5 separate regions of the Homo sapiens genome follow, and regions 1, 2, 3 and 4 are each linked to region 5. Evidence: promoter capture Hi-C in 16 types of primary human blood cells and fetal thymus (Javierre and others, 2016). All regions are on one chromosome and are shown on one strand. Each heading gives the region's core, a stretch centred on a gene start or on the middle of the fragment in contact. The rest is flanking DNA. Distances are from core to core; before and after follow the strand shown. Region 1 overlaps ITGA6 (integrin subunit alpha 6). Region 2 overlaps DYNC1I2 (dynein cytoplasmic 1 intermediate chain 2). Region 3 overlaps ITGA6 (integrin subunit alpha 6). Region 4 overlaps DYNC1I2 (dynein cytoplasmic 1 intermediate chain 2). Region 5 holds the start of METAP1D (methionyl aminopeptidase type 1D, mitochondrial).

Region 1 (2,700 bases), core at 26-2,525, 490 kb before region 5:
GCTATACCTGCTGCCTTTATAGATGCAGAGAAAGGATCCTTAGGGAAGGTGTGGTTTATTTGAAAGTCCCTTATGATGCCTGTTGATATGTCCTGGAGAGACCGGGACAGTGCTGGTTGATACCACTTATCGCAGCAGCTTGCCCAGTACAGCATTTGTCTCAGGCAAATGTATCCTGGGGCTGGGTGCAGTGGCTCACACCTATAATCCCAGCATTTTGGGAGGCTGAGGCAGGCGGATTGCTTGAGTCCAGGAGTTAAAGACCAGCCTGGGCAACATGGTGAGACTCTGGCTATACAAAAAAAACTGAAAAATTAGCTGGGCGTGGTGGCATGCCTGTGGTCCCAGCTACTCAGGAGGTGAGACAGGAGGATTGCTTGAGCCCAGGCATTCAAGGCTGCAGTGAGCTGTGTTTGCGCCACTGCACTCCAGCCTGGGTAACAGAGCAAGACTCCATCTCAAAAAACTAAATAAAAACAAAAATGTATTCTTGCTTGGATAATAAATCGTAAGGACTGCTATATTTCAGAAAACAGAATGATTAGGGAGGCTCCCTGAATTTTCAGCTAGCTAAATGACTGAAGCCAGAACATTTCCATAAGTAGACTGGCAGATTAACTTAAGAACAGTAATTCACAGTATTTCTTTCTCCAGTCTCTTTTGCAAAACATTCCCATTCATTATTCCCACCATGACATGCAGTCATTCTGCCTCGAGATCTTTATACAAGTCCCTGTGGGTTCTAGACTCCCACAGGGAACCCCTCACTATTGGTTCACTACAAGGTTCTACACCTAGTCCTATTCAACATATTTGTCATTACCTGGATGAAGACATAGAGAACATGCTTCTCAGTTTTTAAAACTTTCAGGGATAGAAAGTTGAGAAAGCAAATGATGAAGCAAGATTCAGAATTACTTTGCAAACTGAAACAATGGACCCAAAGCAAATCACATAAAATGTAAGGATACACTTAAAGGCATACATTTAGATTTTTACAAATAGCTCAAGGACAGGATACTGGAAACACAGCTTGACAACAAATTCTGATGAAAACACCTGGAAGTTTCAGTAGAACACTAACACAAAAATAGCAGCTGCTAGAAATTCAAACATGCTGCTCAGCAATGGTTTGAAAAAGCAAATTTTAGGCAGGTCTGACAGAAGTGTGGTGCCGAGATGCTGAGAGGTAAAGGCCCCAGGGTAAGTGGGACCAAGCAGACCCCACCTCAGCTGCTCTGTCCACGTGGGAATCAAATTGCCCAGGAAGGGAGAGGCCAGGAGCCAGTTCAGCTGTGCCCAATGTGACGCATAACTCAAGAGCTGGGTGCATAAGCTCTGAGAAGAATAAGAAACATCCAAGGAGGCATGACCATTTCCTTCAATTATTTGAGAGGCTGCTACATGGCCAAGAGAGAGAACTTATTTTAGACTTGTTTGAGGGGCATAACCAGGGACTTACAAGGTTCAGTTCAGGAGTCAGCTATGAAGAGATCTTTTTTAATAATTACAGCTGGCCAAGGGATGGGCCATCACTGGGGCATTACACCAATGGCTGCAGCATTAGAGATGGTAGAAGACACAGGTTTCTAGAGGGCTGTGAGGTGCACCCATTCTCTGAATTGAGCCAGTAGTTCTCAAACCTACCATGGGCACTGCTGAACTGGATGACCCTAGATTTACTTCTTTTTTTCAATGATTCTATTAAAATACAGCTTGCAGTGCCAGTACCTTAAGACAGTTTTCTCCGTAATGGGGCTATGAGGGAAATGAGCACCAAAGCACATGACTTCAGGACATGAGTGTGGGGTACAGGGAAAAGAGACATGTTCTGAACCTGAATGAAGCTGGGGAACCTCTCACCTGAGTGCCTGCATTTGGCAGCCTGATATTTTCGGCAGCAGCAGTCACATCAATGAAGGCTCGCATGAGAATGTCCAAGTAGTTCAGTTTGGAATATTCCTGTTTGGAGACAGTGAATGCATTAGGGAAGTGAAAAGTGTCCTAGGCAAAGGCAAATTACTTCCATGGGACAGCCTCAAGCCAAGGTCATACCTCTAGAAATGTGCTGTTCCATAACCTCGAGCGCAAAATAAGAGACGCCTTGCTGTCCAGCCCCCGCAGCGGGCATCTGATGTTCACACAGTTCACGTTCACGCTACAGTTCTAGAGAGAAAAAGAAGAATGGTCATCAAAAGACATTGTTCTGAAGAAATCCTTCCCCTCATCCTCTCAAATATTCACAGCTCTTGAAAAATACTTACAAGAGTCTGGTATTTTCTTTCAGCAAATAAAGAAAATTTTCTGTTATCATCTATCTGTTTTTCAGTAATTTCCCGTTTCTTTCTTGAGTTGTGAGACTCCTGAAAAAAATTATATCCAAAATAGTTCCAATTTATGTAATTCTTTGTCATTACCATACAAGCCTCTTGAGCATATCCTCCCAAACAGTGCCAGATTCACATAATCAACAATATTTGCCTCTCTCCTGCCAAAGGCACAGAAGTAAGTGTAAAACCAGCAAGTATTATCACTCTAAATTCAAGTTTATTGATTTACTCATAGGACTAAGTAATTCATTCCCACTCTGACCTTAAAACTCAGAGAAAGAGAAATATGCTTTCTTTGTTCCTCTGTATCCCCACCAAACTGTGGGCATACTGAGATCAGAGATCAAATCTTATTCCTGTATCCCTAGCC
Region 2 (2,700 bases), core at 28-2,527, 290 kb after region 5:
TCCAGACTCCCAAAAAAGTTCTCAGTGATGAAGCTGCCTTAAAAGGATATACAATAAAGACACTGCTGCAACTTTCAGAATATAAAGCAGGCTATCGCTGGTAATATAACTTTTTTCTTATATAAATATTCTTTTCAGTTCTATTTAGTAACTAAATCCAAGTCCTATACAATCTAATAAAGCATAACAAAGTACTATAAAGTATAATAAAATTAGTACATTTTAAAAATTAATGTTCCAAAATGTGGGCCATAACAATTTTTTAATGTCTTTTCTAGTTTAGAAATAAAAAAGAAAGGGAAAAAAAAAGTATAGTCAAAGAATTAAGTGGACAATTTAAGTAATCTGAAGTAATCTAGAAGTCTAAGAATAAAATTTGAAATAAGAAACTTTATATTCTGATTTTTAAGATGCAAATTATATAAAAAGTAAATCACTCACATAGCTGGAAAAAAATCGTCAAGCCAACAATATTAGGAATCAATTACCAACTTGAATGCATACAGAGTCTAACAGAAAAAACCATAATACTAAACAAACGAAATATTCCAAGATTTTATAGGAGGAGGTGGGTAGGGAAGTAATACCTCACTTATCCAAAAGCCACTTTTACTGAAAATAAGGAAGCAATGGGAGGCAGGAGGGGGAAGCCTCAGTGTGGCCACTACAGAGGGCTTCCAGTTCAAGTACAAGAAACTCATATATTTTTCTTACATGCCTCAAATCAAGGCTTATTTACCTTACTTTAGACACAATTCCAAAAGGTATATTCATATGTTTTTGAAGCTGTAAATTATCAGGGGAAAAGGGCTATCTGAGTCAGGCAAAATGGCAGCAGCAAACATTTATAATTTGCATTAGAATCTAGAATAAATAACTGAATGAATGAATGGATGGATAATCTTATCTCTATGTCAACAAAATTAAAAAACCATACATACAGCTTACAACACTAACTTCTAAAAGAACAAGTTTTAAAACTCTAAAAAAGAGACATACAGAAACTATAAAGCATTAGTTTTCTAACGTTTCACTAAGAAAATATGCCAAAAAAAAAAGCAAAAAACAAAACAAAAATAAAAGGAAGAAAGAAAAGAACCTATTTATTTAACCTAGGGGCTCAATGACAATTATATTAAGAATATTCATCCATACATTCTATGAATAATCTATTAATCCATTCATTCACTCATTTATTTATTCTAGATTCATGAATAGTTTTATTCTAGATTCATGAATAAATAGTAATGAATGAATGAACAGTGTAAGGACCAGCATCTCCATTATTCTCAAAATCTTAGAAATCATCAGTGAATTTTAATACAGAAAAATAAATTAATATTCATATCAAGTAACCCTGAAAAGGTTCAATTACATGTAGAATATTAGAAGAAGTCTGAGAAGTTTTTTAATACATCCTACAAAACTTGTATTAAAAACATAGAAATAATTTTAAACATTTGGACACTTAAATGGACTCAGGGTACATAGAACATCACACAGAATATTCTTTCACTAAAGATACTGGATAAATGAGGTGTCACAGTAAAATATAACTCTTGTCCTTACTACGTGATACAATATTATAAACTTAAGCAAAATAAAATTAGGACAGTTTCACAAAGAATCAAATTCATTATAAAACAGGGAAGGTAAAAAATCTATTCAATACCCCAAATCGGAATCTGAGTGAAGCTGAAGAACTGATGGATCTGTATCCCAATGCAGCGTCCTAAATGGTTGTAGGACAACCATGAAGCATTAGCAAAAAAGGCCATAAGTTAGTCAAGCAAATACATTCTATGAATAGCTAAAGCTAAAGTACTATTCACAATTAAAAAACACATGTTCTGGTTAGTATTAAAAAAAAAAAATCGAAAACAAAACAAGAAATCCACCAGGTCACTCAATCATCTAGTGCATGCAATAGGCTTCCTATGGTTAAAGATGCAAGCATACAACCCAGAATAGTTAAAAGACATTATTTGCAGATTATGGGAAACTAATATTGTATAATAATAGATCTGCTTTAGAACAACTAAAGTCAGACAACCCAAGTTAATTATTTATGGATAACAAGCTAGGCTATAAAATGGTTGAAATTTTAAGATTCCTAATGAAAACAAACACATTAAAACATCTTGGTTAACATATTCTAATCTTCCCCAAAGCATTACATGTGTGCAGGAAATTGTCATACTGGTAAAGGAAATGAGTCAACACATAAGCCTTTTGGTAATAAAACCAAAGACTATCCCACTGGGATACAAAATAGCTAAAGTTTCCAAAATGTGACCCTTCTGTAATTTATGGGTTAAGCACCGCCTTGGGCTTACGTATCATCTGCTTAAAGAAAACAACTAAAGATTTCTGTCTCTAGGAAAAAAATAGATTTTTCCCTGGAAAAATATTTTATGTTCAAATGTCAATCCTAAATATTGAGTTATAAGTTTTAGCATCGCCTGCTGGCTAAGTAACTTACAGAGGATCTTTTCCACTTAAGCCAAACTTAGTTACTAATAGAACAAAAGGTGCTTTATCATACTGGCATTTATATAGGTTAGCAATATATAAGATAATTATGTATGGTACTGTATAATGCTCATAGTCCCCACTAAATAAAGTTAAGCACAATACATTTAGTATTACCATTTTTGTCAAATATATTTTTCACTTATGTAAGACATTATAATTTATAAC
Region 3 (2,700 bases), core at 165-2,664, 430 kb before region 5:
CCCATCTACCTGCCCCAGTTCAGGGCTAATTAACAATTAGCCTTTTAACTTAATTCCAAGAGATCAGTGTTTGCAAATCTAAATGCCAGTTTAACAAACCTGTGAAGGAAACACTACTTCCATATTTGCCCACATACTTTCCAACCTTAGGCAGTTTTGTCATCAATAATCCACAAGCTCCTTCCTAGCAAACATTAGTGCCAAGCAAAAAACTAAGAAAAATAAATCGTTTTCAAACCTGCCCTGGGTGTTGTGCAAGTTATCCAGCCTCCTAGGGATGGAGGTGTGGGGGTGCTTTCAAGGTCATAGAGGTCTAAGAAGGCCTGGAAACCAGACAGGTGGTATTCCTTAGCAGTAAGCCCAACCTATAACTGCACCACCCACCCTCCATGGGTATCCAGCTCACAGTCACTGCCCCGTCATGTCTATGCACCCATCTGTCCACTCATCTCTGAACACTGAGACCTCACTGGGATTTATCTATGGCTTAGTAGCTACGAAGGGCTGCTAAGTAGAAGGCATGGCTCTTCTGAGATGCACTTTTCAACTGGAGAGTGGAATGGAAGAAAGGGAGAATGTGATGAAAACCAAACCTTTAAACGTGATGAAAACCAAACCTAAAAGGAGAAAGCACATACACAGCACAGGCCGGGAAGCAGGGAAGATGCAGATTGAAGACCAAGTTTGCTAGACATGCCGCCACCACTGCACCTCTTACAGCCTTGGTTTCCTCATCTATTTAACAAACACAAAATGCTCACTCTGGACCAGGACTATTCTAATGTGCGAGGATACTAGCTTCACAGCTGAAGGCAGGAAGGCCTAGGAAGGTTAGGAATCCTGCACAAAATCATAGCTAGTCAATGGCAGAAAAGGGTTTGATCCTACCTGGCTCTAGGCTCTGCTCTTAGTCACTACATTACACTCTGCCTTCTGTGTAAAGGAGAAAAGCTAGTCTGACTCAAACGAAGAAGACTTTAAGAACAGCTTCTTGGAGCACACTTATGGAAACTGACGTAACAGATCTAGGCTGGGCTGAGAATCACACTTTTATAAAAGGTTGCCCAAGTAGTTACCCTGAAGACCAGCCAGGTTTCAGAACCCCTAAGCTTCCTTCCAGATATAAAGTTATTTGATTCCAGAGTTGTACCCAAGCCCAGAAAGGGAAGATGGGCACCGGGGGCTGAGACTACGTCCACTTCCCACTGCTGCAGTACGTAATCTTTACCATCCTCCCAGGAGCCAGCGGGGGTGCTACACAGATCCCCAGATCCCATGCTATGGCTCCTAGGCTCACCCCCGGAGCAGGTAAGCAGCCTTCCCACCATCCTACCGAAAGAGTTAAATATATCCAAGATTCCCTTACTATCCTTGAAGAAATAAACCTGCCGCTATCAATTCACAAGTGACTTCACACGTGTACTGCACACTTCCATTTGACCCCCACACCCCTGTCAAGTTGCTTTCAGAAAGATCTCTATTCCACAGTCATCCTTCTCTGTCCAGCCTCATAACAACCAACCACCTCAGCAAGTCCCGAGTACCCACTGCAGTGTAGGTCAGCCTGTATTTCTGGGGTTAGGTTCTAAAGTCTGCCTTTAGGGCAAAAGCCAGGTGAAATTTACAAACACTCATGAAAATCCCTTAGCTGGAACCCCCCGCCTTTGAAAAATCAAAAACCAAGAATTAACGTCTTGTGCGTTTCTTTGCTAAGCTTACAGATTCCGTTTCCTCAGAGGCAGAAGACACCAAGGCCTGAGCAAGGAAGGGCAAAGGGTTAAAGAAAGGGATTTCTCCCTCTCTCCACCCTCAGCAGGAAGAGTTGATGTCACAGGTTAAACTGAGTGTATAATATCAGTCTCTATTGTATTTGCAAGGCATATGCTAGGTGCTAGCAGGCAAAGAAATGAATGTAAGACCCCTGCCCTCACATAACCTACAATCCAGTTGGGAGAGATTAGATCATGTCCTAAAGATAGTGGATCACAGTTTAGCACAAAACATCAGAATTGTCAGACACAATGTGCTACAGACATCCAAAGGAGTTAAAGACATTGCTTTAGTGTAGGATGGGGAAATTTTAAACTGGTTCTTAAGCTATGATTATATTCTTAAAATGGGCTGATTCAGCACTAAATCAGTGTTTCAGGCACAATTGACCCTGTCATCTAAGCTTACAACAGTATTTTCTGTTTTGTCTCACTGTCCCTCTTGAAAATACCAAATAATTCACTGGCCTCACTGTCCACAGTAATATGTTGAGCCGAGGTCTTCAGGAAACCATGCGCCATAATTCTGGTACTATTTGGTTATGAAAGCTTAAATTAAATCTCAATATATTGTTATGCTAAGAGAGTCTATATAACTGAGAACACAGAATAACCACTTCTTTATAATAAAGGAATCCTTTTATATAAGCATTTATCCTGACTTCCCCAACAAATTATTTATACCATATAAATACTTTGACCCTTTTTTTCCCCAACCCTGTCATTACTTGGTCTCACACCAGCCTGTGTTAAAATTAAACTTGCCTATTTCTGCTTTCTTGCAGAGTCCTAAGACTTCCTGTAAGTCTCGCTGCCCGTTTTGGCTTTTTCTCTACTCTTAGCATTCAAGGTGACCCAGCAATCCCTGGAAGATGGCCCTGGGCCACATGGCACTCCGAGTGAATAAATGCAAGGAAGCAAGTGCTTAGGT
Region 4 (2,700 bases), core at 54-2,553, 310 kb after region 5:
GTGAGTTCAGTGAAACTAAAGTCTTAAGAAGAACATAAAAGAAAAAAAATCCTATAGGAGAAAAACAAAAGCCAAAGCACAGAAAAAAAAGGTAACTCAAACAAAGGCTAACAAGCAACTTGGTTTAGTTACAAGAAATTAAGTGTTCTGATTCATTTACTTTTAAAATTGCATGTTCAACATAAGCTTATTGAATAAATACATAAAATTAATATACTTCAGTCTTCAAATTCTACAAGAAAAGGAAAATGAGCTGAAAGAAATAACAATGAAGCTGACCATGAGAGTAGCCAGCCTTTTCATCTTGAAACCTTTTAGAAATATCAGCTCTAAGGACAGTTATGTTGCAGTTTCACAACAAGCATAGAGCATTTACAATCTCCAGTATTTGTCCCCTGGACTAGATAAAATTAGCCCACCAACTAGCCCTAAAATGTTAGGTCTCTAAAGGATAAAGGCCATGTTAAACTAAAATACTACATAATAGCACCCAGCACAGAACTATTTTAAGTAAGCATTTGTTCCTGATATGTAACTAGATTGTCCTGTGTACCTCTACTATTTCAGCTTTTTTGGTCTAGTACAGTTATCAAAATGAATAACCCAGAAAAATAATAAGATTAAGTCAAATCACTTCGAAAATAAGCCACAAAATTATCTCCCTTATTAGCATTAACAGCAGAAGGCTATAAGCTTATCCTTCCACTCCTGTACCTTTGAATACTAATATATTTTGCATTCTAACAATATAAGTCTGATTGTATCTCTCGCTAATCTCCAGAAAGGAATATAGAGTTCAGATCAGGAATCCTAGTTATCTTTGAGCTTAACACAGTATGGCACATAAAACTTGCTTAACCAATGTTTGTTGAAATAAATTACTGATTTAATAAGAGAAGTCAATTGGTAGTTCAGTATATGTTAATAATTACTCTTGCAGCTCTTTTGAACAAATAAAATAACCATGTACTAGCATATCTGAAAAAAAGACAATTCCAAATAAAAGATTAATAATTTTAGAGACACAAGGAAAATATGTAAAATATATCAAGTCAATCCACTCAGCTATGTCTGAGCTGAACAGAATCTATGCCTATCTCTTATAAATGGATATATTCTTAACCTTACCAATGGGGGATTCTGGAGTTAGCCCCATGCTTTGAAGCAATGCTTCAGCTTCTCTCCTTTTTTTTTCAAGATCTGATTCTTCTTGCACAGGAGCAACAGCTTCCTTCTTCTGGTCTGTCTAAAATGTTTAGGTTAAAAACTTATGTTTACATATAGTATGAAAAATTTGTTTGCAAAAATGTTTTAAATAATATGCTAACACTGTATACTTTTAAGGCATGAACTTAGTTTTGAGTACAGGTTAAGTTCTTTTTATAGTCATTAAATGAAAATCATTCTCAATAGAGTTCTAGTAAATAACCTTCAAATGATATGTACTAAACTGCTCTATCTTCATATGTAATCAAGGAGTTTCCACAAAAATTTTCCTAACAGACAAATTCAAGAAGTACAGTCAACTTCGAATTATCTACAGTATGAAATTGCTGTCTATGGTCAGGAATAATAGACAACTTCCCCCAAGTGGCACAAAAGGTTAGATACAATATCACATACAATGAAAAAATTAAAGTGTAATTATTTAAGAGGTAACAAATTTTAAGTGAATGACAATATGATTTGTTGAAAAAGAGTATCACAAACTTCTGTATAAAGTCTTCATTTTATTTGGGATTGTGTTTTGTAAAATTAAACTCACTTTTGCATAGCACAAAACATTTTGTTATGAAAATTTTTGTCAGCTTTTATCTCGGCTATTTATCGTTTTAGCACAATCTGCTGGTTAAACTAGATAAACCTCAATACTCTCAGATCATCCAAGACTTCTCAAGTAAAATGTAAGCTTTCCAAGGAAAAGTTTTTTTTATGTAAATCTCAAATCCCTATGCCACCTAGACAACTATTACTCAGACACTGTCTGGAGTGAATTTTGTTAGCCATAATATTCTATGCCATTTTGACTTAAAAGTCATCAGAAAAATTAATCAAAATAACAAAACAGGTTGTAATATCAAGCTGATGCTTCACTGTTGATAAAAATATATTAATAGACTCACAGTTTAATACCATTGTATTATCTCTTGTAACATTTTTATAAACTTTGTTTTTTCCCATTGGTCTGTGTGACTCAATAAGTTTTACAAGCTTTAAATTAGGTATAAATCATGCAATAGATATCCCTTAGAACCCATTTTTGCCAGTTATGGCCATCATTAGAAAACAAAAATGAAATTTGCTCTCAGCACGGAAATGTTTAGGGATATAAATATTATTTTGGAATAGCTCTGCCAACCTGAATCATGCTTCTACCAGTCAGCTTTTAATCTAATAGCTAATGTAAAGCTCCAATCCTCTTATAATGTCTCACAGAAAGGTTCAGAATAAACTAGCAAATTCTTCAATTACAGGCCTTTACAGCATCATAGTAATGCTGCACATAAATTGTACCTTCAACTTTTCTACTACTTATTTTTCTCTTAGTCCCCAAGAGATTTCTGGCAGTCTTGGCCATTATTTAGGCTACCACATATAAAAACTTGGTCCTAAAGACACACAAGAAAAACTACCTTACACTAGGTATTTAAAACATATCTGTAGTAAAAGTACACTGATATGTCTAAAGAGTTTCCATAG
Region 5 (2,700 bases), core at 67-2,566:
CGTGCCCAGGCTCTCTTCACTTTTTGTACACACTCATCCTGCACTGTCTCTGCTGAACTTTACACACTGACTTCTATGGAGTGACCACGTCATGCAGTACCGAGAAATGAGTCTTAAAAAAAAAAATTAGAGTCATGTTCAAATGAGCAATCTGCCTCTTACCATTTATGCGACCTTAGTAATGTTACTTAACCTCTCTAGCCTTACTTTTCCCTTCTGCAAAGAGAAAATAATTCCTAACTCACTGGGTTTTTGTTTTTGTTTTTGAGACAGGGTCTGGCTCTATTGCCAAGTCTGGAGTTCAGTGGTACGATCACGGCTCACTGCAGCCTCTTGACCTCCCAGGCTCAAGCGATCCTACCACCTCAACCCCCAGAATAGCTGAGACTACAGGCATGTGTCACCACGCCCGACTAATTTTTAAAATTTTTTGTAGAGACGGGGTCTCATTCATTGAGTTTTAAAAGGAAGCAAGCATATGTAAGGCGCTTAACACAGTATCGTGTACTTAAAAGGCACTTAATAAACAGTAGCTGTTACTATGAAAATAATATTTACCTCACAAAACTGTTCCTACATGCCTGACGCTTAAGTAGCTCCTCAAAATATGATAGTTTTCCTCTTCCCCCGTCCTTGGAAAAACTTTCTAGTTCTTTCCAACAAAGATTCAGCACCTAGTTCAAATCCAACAAAGATTTCCCCAATTCTGCTGCAAAGGCATTTGTATATTTACTAAAATCTCAACACTCACGCAGGATAAAACCTACTTAGAACTACCCAGACATCCTTTCTTATCTTCTTAACTTTAAGTCACTGGAAGAAAACCATCACATTTTGCAAGTCCCCAAAAAGCATGCCTGCATAAAAGCTCTAGGGAAGGGAACCGGGTGTCCAGATGCATTTCAGAATTACCATAGGTTTCCTTGCTCGGCATACAGAATAAATGTTGGTTACACTAATGATACAACCGAAGTTGGGGAAAAAAACTTCAGACAATGGCCCGCAAATCTCAAGGAGTAATTGCGAAAAGATGCCACGTGGTGACGTGTTCTAGGCGGGTGATCAGTGAACAAATTTGTATGTGTGATCCTGTGGTGTGTGAATGTGTCATCGTGTGTGCCTGCGTGTGTTCGTAAACACTGAAAGTACAGTCGTGTGCGCCGAGAAGTCTGAGCGCGGGTGCGCATCCCTTTGGACCCGGGTGCGTACCTAGTGAGCAACCGTGCGAACCCTCACGGGGCTCTCCTCCACGCGCTTACCTCTGCGGACGAGCAGGTGGACGCCACTGGGCGCCGCCATGTTGGCGTCGGTCACGTGGCCGCGAGCACTCGCTCGCCGCCCCGCCCGCTGGAGCCGGCCAGTCGCAGCCCTGCCGAAGCCCTGAGGCGTCGAGGCCGCCCGAGGGGAGCGCGCGTGCGCGCGCGGGGCTGACTGCGGGAGCCCTGGCTGGGAAGCGGCTAGGGCACCCGGGCAAGCAGCAGAACCCGCGGCCGGCTGAGTCCTCTCCAGCCGCGAGAGGCGGGCTCCAGCCGCGGCTCGCGCGCTCGCTCTGAGCCCCCGCGCCCAGGTGGGATGGAAGAAGCCTGTCAGGTAAGCGTGGCATCCAATATTTATAGCATCAACATTTTGGTGCATGGAAACGTGAAGTTGGGCGGAAAAAATAAAGCACAATCTAGTGTTCAACATAGCACTTTGTATCGTCTGCCACTCTGTTGCAAATTATTCCCCTGGATTCAGTTGAAAGGTAAAATTTGGTTCAAAGTCACCAGCTCCCCTTTTGCTGTCCCAGAATCTACATTACTCAGCAGAGACTCCAGACAACACAGGATCTGTGTGTCGCTGCAAAATCTATTCTAGGTACCCCAGTGGGTATGTTCAGGAGACTTCTCTTTCTCCAAGGACGCCTTCTGCTTGGCAGTATTAACTGGAGTCTTAATCCTAAATTTGGAGTTTAAGTATAAAAGGATGACGCCTGCCAATTGCATTGCCAAGAGAAGAAGCCTACAGAAGGCCAATTGTGAATCAGATGAGGGAGCTGATGTATGCCTACTGATGACGGTGCCCATTTTTACCAAATTCACTGTCTCTCTTACCTGTGTTCTGGGGTAGATGCCATCCTGTCATGGACCAGGTGTTATTCATCTTAGTAGCCTCCGTGCCCGGCACAGAACCCGATACCCGAGGAATGTCAGGTGAAGCAATTGAACACTGCATGAAACCAGTCAAACTGAGAATGTAACCGTTTCCAGACTTTAAATGCAGTGAAGATTGATTAGGATTCTCAGTGAATGTGTGTGATGTCTTCTAATTAATTTTTAAGCACTACACACTCAGTGAATAATCTAGACAATTCAGAACAATTCAGAAATAAGGAACAAGTGCAAGCCCCTTCCTCGCCCTCTGTACATACCATAGTCCCACTCCCCAGTTAACCACCGTGTGCTCAATTGAGATCTTTGCCTTTTACACACAGGCAAATGTAAGTATTTTAAATAGAATCATATGACTTGCTTTTTCCATTCCAGTCATCATAGGCATCAAATCTTAGAACACTTAGTTCAGACTTATTCTTTTTAATGACTATATAATCTTGATATTTTTACTTTTAAAGAGAGTGAATGTTGGCATTTCATTAGAGGACACATGCTATAATTCTGGAAAACCTGGTTTTGGATGCTTTTGGGTCACCTTGAAAGATAA

Evidence for each region. The method cuts DNA at HindIII sites, captures the fragments that hold promoters and counts their contacts. A CHiCAGO score of 5 or more calls a contact.
Region 1: a fragment that was not itself captured here is called in contact with the fragment with the promoter of METAP1D in region 5 in 4 of 17 cell types (naive CD8 T cells, non-activated CD4 T cells, activated CD4 T cells and 1 more); the score reaches 7.0 in naive CD8 T cells.
Region 2: a contact is called between a fragment that was not itself captured here and the fragment with the promoter of METAP1D in region 5, in 1 of 17 cell types (megakaryocytes). The highest score is 6.5, in megakaryocytes.
Region 3: a fragment that was not itself captured here is called in contact with the fragment with the promoter of METAP1D in region 5 in 1 of 17 cell types (activated CD4 T cells); the score reaches 5.4 in activated CD4 T cells.
Region 4: a contact is called between a fragment that was not itself captured here and the fragment with the promoter of METAP1D in region 5, in 5 of 17 cell types (megakaryocytes, activated CD4 T cells, naive B cells and 2 more). The highest score is 7.2, in megakaryocytes.

The regions. Positions count from the first base shown.
Region 1 is chr2:172,490,687-172,493,386 of GRCh38, reverse strand. It overlaps ITGA6 (integrin subunit alpha 6), which reads right to left. Exons shown (of 26, transcript NM_000210.4): 21 at 2,265-2,363; 22 at 2,056-2,166; 23 at 1,864-1,962. The region is part of intron 2 of PDK1-AS1 (PDK1 and ITGA6 antisense RNA 1); the gene reads left to right. Among named protein-coding and RNA genes, the nearest start is that of ITGA6-AS1, 26 kb to the right of the region's middle. The HindIII fragment of the contact is 4,096 bases long and covers 1-2,700 here.
Region 2 is chr2:171,711,799-171,714,498 of GRCh38, reverse strand. It overlaps DYNC1I2 (dynein cytoplasmic 1 intermediate chain 2), which reads right to left. Exons shown (of 18, transcript NM_001378.3): 6 at 1,673-1,732. Among named protein-coding and RNA genes, the nearest start is that of DYNC1I2, 26 kb to the right of the region's middle. The HindIII fragment of the contact is 3,280 bases long and covers 1-2,700 here.
Region 3 is chr2:172,431,621-172,434,320 of GRCh38, reverse strand. The region is part of intron 1 of ITGA6 (integrin subunit alpha 6); the gene reads right to left. Among named protein-coding and RNA genes, the nearest start is that of ITGA6, 5.4 kb to the right of the region's middle. The HindIII fragment of the contact is 605 bases long and covers 1,112-1,716 here.
Region 4 is chr2:171,691,323-171,694,022 of GRCh38, reverse strand. DYNC1I2 (dynein cytoplasmic 1 intermediate chain 2) reads right to left here. Exons shown (of 18, transcript NM_001378.3): 3 at 1,129-1,246. Among named protein-coding and RNA genes, the nearest start is that of DYNC1I2, 5.2 kb to the right of the region's middle. The HindIII fragment of the contact is 1,216 bases long and covers 696-1,911 here.
Region 5 is chr2:171,998,569-172,001,268 of GRCh38, reverse strand. It overlaps METAP1D (methionyl aminopeptidase type 1D, mitochondrial), which reads right to left and starts at 1,316. Exons shown (of 10, transcript NM_199227.3): 1 at 1,260-1,316. The coding sequence starts at 1,299. LOC124905590 (a long non-coding RNA gene) reads left to right here and starts at 1,360. Exons shown (of 3, transcript XR_007087296.1): 1 at 1,360-1,590. RefSeq lists a silencer at 1,322-1,621. The HindIII fragment of the contact is 8,153 bases long and covers 1-2,700 here.